2 separate regions of the Homo sapiens genome follow, and region 1 is linked to region 2. The links are contacts of gene promoters, found by promoter capture Hi-C in human tissues and cell types (Jung and others, 2019). All regions are on one chromosome and are shown on one strand. Each heading gives the region's core, a stretch centred on a gene start or on the middle of the fragment in contact. The rest is flanking DNA. Distances are from core to core; before and after follow the strand shown.

Evidence for each region. Contacts are between HindIII fragments. The study calls those that stand out against the background at their distance.
Region 1: a fragment that was not itself captured here is called in contact with the fragment with the promoter of FLRT2 in region 2 in 1 of the 25 tissues and cell types used here (hippocampus).

What each region holds. Positions count from the first base shown.
Region 1 is chr14:84,497,072-84,501,634 of GRCh38, reverse strand. No RefSeq gene overlaps it. Among named protein-coding and RNA genes, the nearest start is that of LINC02305, 580 kb to the right of the region's middle. The HindIII fragment of the contact is 5,685 bases long and covers 1-4,359 here.
Region 2 is chr14:85,527,756-85,532,427 of GRCh38, reverse strand. It overlaps FLRT2 (fibronectin leucine rich transmembrane protein 2), which reads right to left and starts at 2,284. Exons shown (of 2, transcript NM_013231.6): 1 at 1,894-2,284. FLRT2-AS1 (FLRT2 antisense RNA 1) reads left to right here and starts at 769. Exons shown (of 2, transcript NR_184170.1): 1 at 769-3,811. The HindIII fragment of the contact is 3,489 bases long and covers 350-3,838 here.

The DNA of each region.
Region 1 (4,563 bases), core at 268-2,767, 1.0 Mb after region 2:
AGGGTCTGAGAAGGCCACTGCAGTCATTTCTTCCCTTCTGTCAGACATAATTCCTCAGTTTAGCCTTCCCACCTCTATACAGTCTGATAACAGACCAGCCTTTATTAGTCAAATCAGCCAAGCAGTTTTTCAGGCTCTTAGTATTCAGTGAAACCTTTATATCCCTTACGGTCCTCCATCTTCAGGAAAAGTAGAACGGACTAAAGGTCTTTTAAAAACACACCTCACCAAGCTCAGCCACCAACTTAAAAAGGACTGGACAATACTTTTAAGACTTTCCCTTCTCAGAAGTCAGACATGTCCTCAGAATGCTACAAGGTACAGCCCATTTGAGCTCCTGTATAGACGCTCCTTTTTATTAGGCCCCAGTCTCATTCCAGACACCAGACCAACTTAGACTGTGCCCCAAAAAAACTTGTCATCCCTACTATCTTCTGTCTAGTCATACTCCTATTCAACGTTCTCAACTACTCATACATGCCCTGCTCTTGTTTACACTGCCGGTTTACACTGTTTCTCCAAGTCATCACAGCTGATATCTCCTGGTGCTATCGCCAAACTGCCACTCTGAAGTAAATAAATAATCTTTGCTGGCAGGACTATGCTGAATCTCCTTAGGCACTCTCTATCAGATGTCCTGAGTCATCCCAATTCTTAGACCTTTTATACCTGTTTTTCTCCTTCTCTTATTCCATTTAGTTTTTCAATTCATACAAAACCATATCCAGGCCATCACCAATAGTTCTACACGACAAATGTTTCTTCTAACAACTCCACAATATCACCCCTTACCACAAAATCTTCTTTCAGCTTAATCTCTCCCACTCTAGGTTCCCACGTCACCCCTAATCCCGCTCGAAGCAGCCCTGAGAAACATCGCCCATTATCTCTCCATACCACCCCCAAAATTTTCGCCATCCCAACCCTTTACCACTATTTCATCTTATTTTTCTTATTAATATAAGAAGACAGGAATGTCAGGCATCTGAGCCCAAGCTAAGCCATCATATCCCCTGTGACCTGCACGTACACATCCAGATGGCCGGTTCCTGCCTTAACTGATGACATTCCACCACAAAAGAAGTGAAAATGGCCTGTTCCTGCCCTAACTGATGACATTGTCTTGTGAAATTCCTTCTCCTGGCTCATCCTGGCTCAAAAGCTCCCCTACTGAGCACCTTGTGACCCCCACTCCTGCCTGCCAGAGAACAACCCCCCTTTGACTGTAATTTTCCTTTACCTACACAAATCTTATAAAATGGCCCCACCCCTATCTCTCTTCACTGACTCTCTTTTCAGACTCAGCCTGCCTGCACCCAGGTGATTAAAAGCTTTATTGCTCACACAAAGTCTGTTGGGTGGTCTCTTTACACGGACGCGCATGAAAGTTACCACTATGAACAGAATATAAACCATTAGCTGGTTTATTTCTAATCTACACAAGAATATTGTGAGGCAAAACTCTATGAATGCTATATACCTTTTCAATACAATTGCCCTAGTATCACCCGCTTAATTTCATAATTACTTTTCACGTATATTGAAGCTGATTAGTCCATATGTGGTTTTAGCCCAGATTTTTGTAACATTATTAGCCTATGTAAATCTTATATGAATCACACTTAAAAGTAGCAAATAAAAAGTGAAGTTACAAGAGGTTTGGTTTGGTTTGCTTTTCTTTGTATATAGTTGTATGCATGTGTGTAAATAACCGTTTTATTGTTTTGAGACTTTAAAGTGTTCACTTACATTTCATAAAAAATATCAAAAATTAGGAAAGTTCTCCTGAATATTTTATTTTAATCAAGAAAGCTTAAGTATGTCAGAAAGTAGACATTTAAGAAAAATTACGAATTCATTGGGGTTTAGTTTTAAATTATGTAAGTGTAACTTGTCATATTGAGCTGTTAATTGTATATTAACTTTTTTATTTGCAAACTTTTACATTTTACCCTCTTTACTCAAGTAGAATTACTTGCTATAAAGTTACTGAATAAACATTTAAGATGCCAACTTTGTCAGTTTTTCCTAATTGACATTAAGTGCCATGTCTTGGTAGTGCTTGAAACACTCACAACCCAGAGCTTAATGATTCTAGTATAGCAGCAACTCTAGGAATATGTGAATGGTTTTGTTGATTGACCCAGGAATTAATCCTCTTCTATTTTTCACAAAGGAAGTAGATTCAGTAGGATAGGAAATGACCATGAAAAGTCACAACAGCACAAGGAAAGGAACTGAGGCTAGAAAATGTCACATTACAGCTCCAACACCTCTCTATATATATATCCTCTATCCCTTATCTGACTTGGAGAAATGTCTAGAAGGTTGTAATAGCTCAGATGAATCTTTGACTGGTAAGATGTAGCCAGGAGAAGAAAATGGAGATGCGGCCCAGTAAGAGGAAGACGAGTAAAGTGATGTAGATGTGGGTTTCTACATAGACCAAGTTGCTTATTGTTGGAAAATACATAAGAAGGAGGAGTAATGCAAGTTAGGGGTGGTGAGGCTATCCAGGATATTCCTTATAATGTTAAGGAGAAGCATTCATCTCTCTACATTCCTCTCCCACACTCCTGTAAGACCTAGCCTCCTCTCCCCTCTCTAGAGATTGTGTTGGTTTTACATTCTAAACATTTCTCATATTTATTTCTTGTTCTCAAGTCTCGGACCATTGCTTTTGGTCAAAGCATATTAGATTATATTAGATCACATGACCATATATCCTCATAGTACCTTCCTCTTCCTTGTGCCGTATCCATCATTTCTTATTAGAATCCCTCGTCAGCTTCACCAAGTCCTCCAACAGCCCAGCTAGGTCTGTCTTGCCCACCGAAATATCCCTTTTGGCAAGTACTGTTCCTTACACAGAGTGAATGATGAATAAAAATTGATGGAGTGAATGAAATCCTTATCTAAACCTTTGCAATAGTCTCCCATCTGTTCTCTTTGACTTCAATTCATCTCCTGTTTCTTCCATCCACCATCCTACAACAACAGCACACAGGAAAAAGACTCCTACCTTATAAATAAATATCTTATATTCAGACAGAAATTTGAATGTTTATTCACAAATATTTACTTAAGAAAGATTTCTGAGTAGACTCACACATAGATGTCTGAAATGGGTGCTAAATTTTTAGGCTCTTTCAAAGAGTTATAGTTCTAATTTCTATATTTCTCTTTGTAAGGAAATTTTGAAGCATGCCTCCAAAATTTTGAACTAAGTTTGTCCCTAAGAGTATTTTATTTTCTTTTTATGACTTGCGGTAATTTGAATTAAGGAAATGACACCTAGATATTGATTGCCCTCTTAAATGTACTTAATTTTCAAAGATATCTAGTGATAATAATTTTTTTTCTTTTCTTTAGCTTGAAGGGAAAAAGCACATACACATTCCTTGTGTCTCTGAAAAGACAAATGTCAACAAATAGATTCCCTAATGAAAACAAAAGGATCTATTTCTCCTCTAGCATATTTATCCAGGGGTAATGCATTGGAAAGATATGACTCAGGGGATCCTGCAACAAGTACATTTTGAATTATAATCCTGACCATGTCACTGACTTAAATATGGGTCTCATTTCTCATGTGCCTTAATCTCTATGGTTGTGAAATTAGGATAATAATTTCCTCCTCACACACTCAGTACTTCAAAAGCTTAATGAAAAATCAAAGAGGACACTTATAATTGTACAAAGTGTCAGGACAGAAAAACAGTCTACACAATGAAGAAAGTTGCAGGGTCCTGATAAGGATTTCATTGAGACAAAGCAGCCCCAAAGACCAAACATTCATCATGGTGTGCTGTGTGCAATGGCTATGGTAGGCGGATGGATGAGAAGTAAATGAGCCATCACCTCCCCATTTTCATCTAAAAGAGGCTCATTGCTTAGTTGACCAAATGGACATACACAGATTCTTCCTTTATTCAAGGAACATTTGTAGAGTATGTCCTATGTGCCAGATACTGTTCTAGCCACTGGGGATGTGGCACTGAGACAAAACAGAAACAAGTAATCTCTGCTGTCAATGGAGCTTCAATTCTATGAGGGAAAAAAAAGTATGGAAATACAATAGAGTATGAAAATTTTAGGCAGGTGGTTAGAAAAGGCCTCACTTAGATGCTTTTTTTGTTAATGATTTATTTTTTTTCTTTTTCTGAGACAGAGTGAGACAGAGTCTCACTCTGTTGCTCAGGCTGGAGTTCAGTGGCTCAATCACAGCTCATTGCAGCCTCAATATCCCAGCCTAAAGCAATCCTCCCACCTCAGCCTCTCAAATAGCTAGGACTACAGGCATGCACCACCATGCCCAGCAAATTTTTTAAACTTTGTAGAAATGGGGTTTCACCATGTTGCACACGCTGGTCTTGAACTCCTGGGCTCCAGCAATCTGCCCACGTCGGCTTCCCAAAGTACTGGGATTACAGGCATGAACAACTGTGCTCAGTTTAGATGCCTTTTAAATAAATACTTGAAGGAAGCAAGGGAGCCAATGACGCAGCTCCTTGAGGGAAAGAAAGTTTAAGGCAAAAATGACAGCACGTGCAAGGGCCTTGA
Region 2 (4,672 bases), core at 1,035-3,534:
CACGTCTCTATTTAGGAAGGAGGAGATGTTTTTGGTTTTCTCATCTTATTTCGTGCTGCTCTTCCTGCCTCCAGTAAGTTGCTGTCATGTTGTAACAAGTCCGGTGAGGCTGAATCTGAACAGAAGAGGGAGAACGAGCCCGCGCCAAGAGCTACGCCGAGACGCGCCGTCGGTGGGGCCACGCGAGATGCAACCGGAGAGTTTAAAACTAGCCCAGGACCAACCCCCCAGGGATCCGCTCAACTCTCCCCGCAGAAGAGTTTAAGTGGGGCAGTGGCCGCCACAGGCTGAGGATGATTTCCGGACGCGCCCCAGGCGCGACCGCACTACTCGTCCTCAGTTCAAAGCCTGAGTGACTTGGCACCACTTCCCCAATTGTTTTTTATTTCCTTCGCATCCCTGTTGTGTCTACCGCTTTCACGTATTTGAGAGCCTAAATCATGTTAAGACGACTTGGAGAAACGCCCGATTTGCCTCCCAAGCCACGCAAGGATCCACCCAGACGCACGCCCGCGCGGAGACGCACGCTGGCACACGCGCTCACACACGCGAGCACACACACGCGCACACTACCCGGTTCGTGCGCGCGGGTCGCTGTTCCTGTTGCATTATGCAAAGGTGGCTGGGAAAGCGCGTTGACTTACATTTACATAGCCCATCTTCTCCCCACAGTATGTGACTAATACGTATCCCGGGGAGGAGGGAGCGCGGCTGGGGGTGCTAATCGGAAGGGAACAGACAGTGAGTGCCATCTTGCTGGGAGGTTCCAGAAGCAAAGCGCCAACGACGACAGTAGCGGTGGCCTCAGCTCCACCAGTAACTGCCGCTGGCAGGAGCACCACACGCTCTAGGAGTTTCCCGGGTATCAAGTATGGGTCCAGCCCGTCCCAGTTATCCTCTTCCCCTATGGCTTCATTCCCGTTGTCAGTACCCCGACCTCAGCTTGCAACCTTGATCTTGGGCTTGATTATAAATGACGAAAGACCGCGGCAGCCTTCAAAGTGCGGGAGCGAGCCCCGTACTGGTCAGCGCGGCGGAGGGATCTTTCCAGGAGGCCCCAAGCCCCCAAGCCTGTGGAGAGACTTGGTAACAGCTGGCAAGGCCTGCTCCAGCCACCCTCGCTGGCTCCTTGCCCCTGCATTCAGCGCCTGAGGGCGTTATTCGCCCTCTCCCTGCGTCCCACGCAAGCGGCTCAAGGAACTCACTCGATCCGGATTCCGCCTCGTATGCTCTCCAAGCCTTCGCCACCTCCGCAGGCGCTCTAGAAAGGCGTGATGGCCCCAGCTCAGTGCCCGCCAGCCCGAAGAGGACAAGCAGGGCTGGAAGGGACTTGGTTTTGGAAAAAGCCCCACCCGCCCCCACCAACTGGAAGGAAAAGGAATTAGTATCCACCGCATCTGTTTAACTGCTAATAGATCCCAGATTACGGGCAGGTAGTAGGTTGGTGTCTTTAGATACAACAGCCTGATAATAACGCTGGTGACATTAACAACAGCTTGTGGAGGGGAGAGGGTTGTTACTGGTGAAAGTTAAGAGATTCAATCTAGGGAAGTAGGAGACTGAACTCTGACAAGGTTAGGGGCACTGAGAACCCCAATTTAGCATCGATGCATCTACCAGGCAAGAAAATTTGCGTTTTGACCCAGAACTCAGTCATGATGCTCCGTAGAGGAGGTGGATTCGACCAGCAGACAGATGTCCCCAAAGTCGAGAGAGAGCTAAGCTGCCTATTTTCTCTCCAGGTGAAAGACAAAGCCTAGAGCACCCCACTTAAGATGACCACCCCCAGCTCTTTCAAAAAAAAAAAATCCCCCGAAGAGACAGCGTGGTGCCAGCGTAGCAGCAGCTCGGCCGGTTACTGGAAACTTCACCTGGCAACGCAGCCCCTTTTACCTGACGGCTGCGTCTTCTCCTTGCAATGGGCTCATCCGAATCCGACAGGGTCAGGGAGGTGGAAAGGGAAGACGCTGGCGCGGCAGCAGCGGGGATCCCGGGGCATGGTATTGTTTTAGGGGTCGCCGCCGAGGTCCCTCCTGCCCATCGTTGAGAACTGCCACCCTGATCCCAGGGCTCGGTGGACACGGCGGCGGGAGCGGAGATGCCGCCTCGCCGCTGCTGGGCACCAGGGACGGAGGACCAGAGGCGCACCTCGGAAAGGAGTAGCTCAGCGCCTTGGCGCGGAGATTTGCGGGCACTGATGATATCTCGAGCGCTCGTTCCTCCGCGGTGACAATGGATAATGCCAAACGCGCAAGTGACGGCGACAGGTTTCGAACGTACAACTAACTACAAGGTACCCAGCCTGAGACAGTATGCTGCTTTTCCCCTCCTCCTCCTCTCCCTCCTACCAGGGAGGGAACTAACTTAACCCTGTGTGCGCCTGACACTCCCTAGAGAAGCTGGGATCGACTAGGAAACCGCAGGCAGCGGCTCCCGGGGGCGAGAGCTTTGTTCACGTGCGTTTCCAGTGGGTGTGTTGCTGTCTAGGGGCACTCGCGTGGCAAGACGCCCGTGGCTGGCTTCCAGCGCCCAAGATTCAAGGAAGGGAAGGAGCCCTAGCGTTTCATCCGGACCAGACCCAGCCCTCGGAGTCTATTTTTTGCCTCCAGTTACCGGATTTATTGAAGTTGCCAGCGAAGTTGGTTTTATTCCTTTACTTCTCTGCTCTCCGCCCCCGTCCACATCCCCCAACCCTGTATTATTTCCTGTCCTAGCTGCGCTTTAAAGATTCGGAACTTTTCACTCGTTCTAGCTACAGATTTTAACTGTGTTCCGTGTGCGAGACGAATTGTGGAGGGCACCCACCCACCCATGCCAAGTGTAAATGAAACCGCAAGAAAAGCTGCCTCCCACTCACCCATCCAGTGTCCGAGTAAGCCTAATGACACACATTCACATAACTAAGAAGACACGGGAAGATAGGGGTGCGGAGGACGGAGTTTGATGTGTGAATGGGAAATGGAGAGAGGGGACAGCGCGCGCGAGAGAAACAGCGCGAGCCTGAGCCTTAGAATGGAATAAACGGGAAACACACACAAGAATGACGATGCAAAAAATGTATCTAAGTCCCAACATTGACAGCAGAGGGTCAGCTTTAAGCGCCTACATTTTGATCCGCGAAATTTCCCAGCTTTTTTGGAGGCGGTTACATAGAGAACACAGGAGCCTCTGCCTTGGCCGCCCAGATGCTTTGCATTTTGTAAACAGCTTTGACTAAGTGCTCTGGACTTCCAAGAAGTTAACTGGAGTGGAAGGCGAGTCATATTGTGGATGCGGAATGGAAGCTTAGACAAGAAAAAACTGTCAGCAGAGCGCCTCTGCTCTCACCGTCACACCCAAATGAGCCAGGACGTCGCTCAGAGCGCAAACTGAGATCCACACAGGGACATCTTCAACCGAATCTTTCTTCTGTCTCCATTCCGGACTAAGGAAAGAAAGAAAGAAATACGGAGCCTTTATAGAGTATTCAGAGGCTACACACATGGATCTTGCTGAAACGGAGTTATTTAAAAACAGAGAAAGTGTGTTTTCCCATGAGATAGATGTTATAGTTTCTCTCTGAAACATACCCAAGTCTATGGGTGTCAATAATAGCCATTTCAAATGCCTCTCTGAGCCTTGCCAGCCCCAGAAGAGGCTGTGGGAATGCTGCTTCCAGCTTCCCCTGTGCAGAACTCCGTTGTAAATCCTTCTGAGTTTCCAAGGTGGCAGCAGAGCATAGGGATAGCTCCTCAAGCTCCAGCATCAACAAGGAAGATCACATTTTAGGACAAATACTCATCTACCTGCATTTAAACATCCATTTTCGTATGTAAGTGTACATAAGTATCCGCAGGAGGTTCTTCCTTTGAAATCTTGATCCAGGAAAGCAGCATAATTATTTCATCTTTAAGAACACATTTTAAAAAGGCAAAGCAGGATCTTTAAAGCAACAAAGGTTTTGCTTTCTGATTTATGCTGCTAGAAAATGAATGAGATTGAAAATGGGGGAGGGGGTGGTTGCAGATTTACAGAATTCATACTTTAAATTATTGGTGTTTCTAAACCATGAGCAAACCATGTTATGAGTATGTGCCACCTATTAAAAGCTATTGGTTGCATCTATTGTAATCACGACAAGGAAAATTAAGTAAGAAAAAATATCACGCCAAAGTACAAGCAGAATCGTTGTAACAAATTTCTTATGCACATGACCTATGAGTCAGCTTTAGAAATGTGTGATGATGGGGCCAGAGGAAGCAAACGAATAGGAAATGTGGCTCAGGGACTCCAAAGAGCAATAATTTTGCAGACTTAGAAAACTATAACAATTAGGTTACTTTATTTTTATTAGGAAACTCACTGATCCATAAGAGAAGTGGGTGAAAGAAAAACAAAAAGCAAATCTGCAAGCTTCAAAAAACAGAGGGTCAGCCCACTATTCTTAAGACTTCAGTCCTCAATAGTTTTCCTTTCAATTGAAATTGATTGTCATCTCAAACACTTTAATCCCCCACCCGCGTGTTTCTTACATCATTCCCCATCTATACACACATAGGTACCTTGGCCTTTCTTTTCTAATACTTTGTGAAAGTAAAAATAACACAGTATAATAAGATCATGATTTGAGCTCAGTTTTGATCTTGGGTAAATTCAACTCTGAGGTGCCTCTTCATTTTTAAAATGGACATTA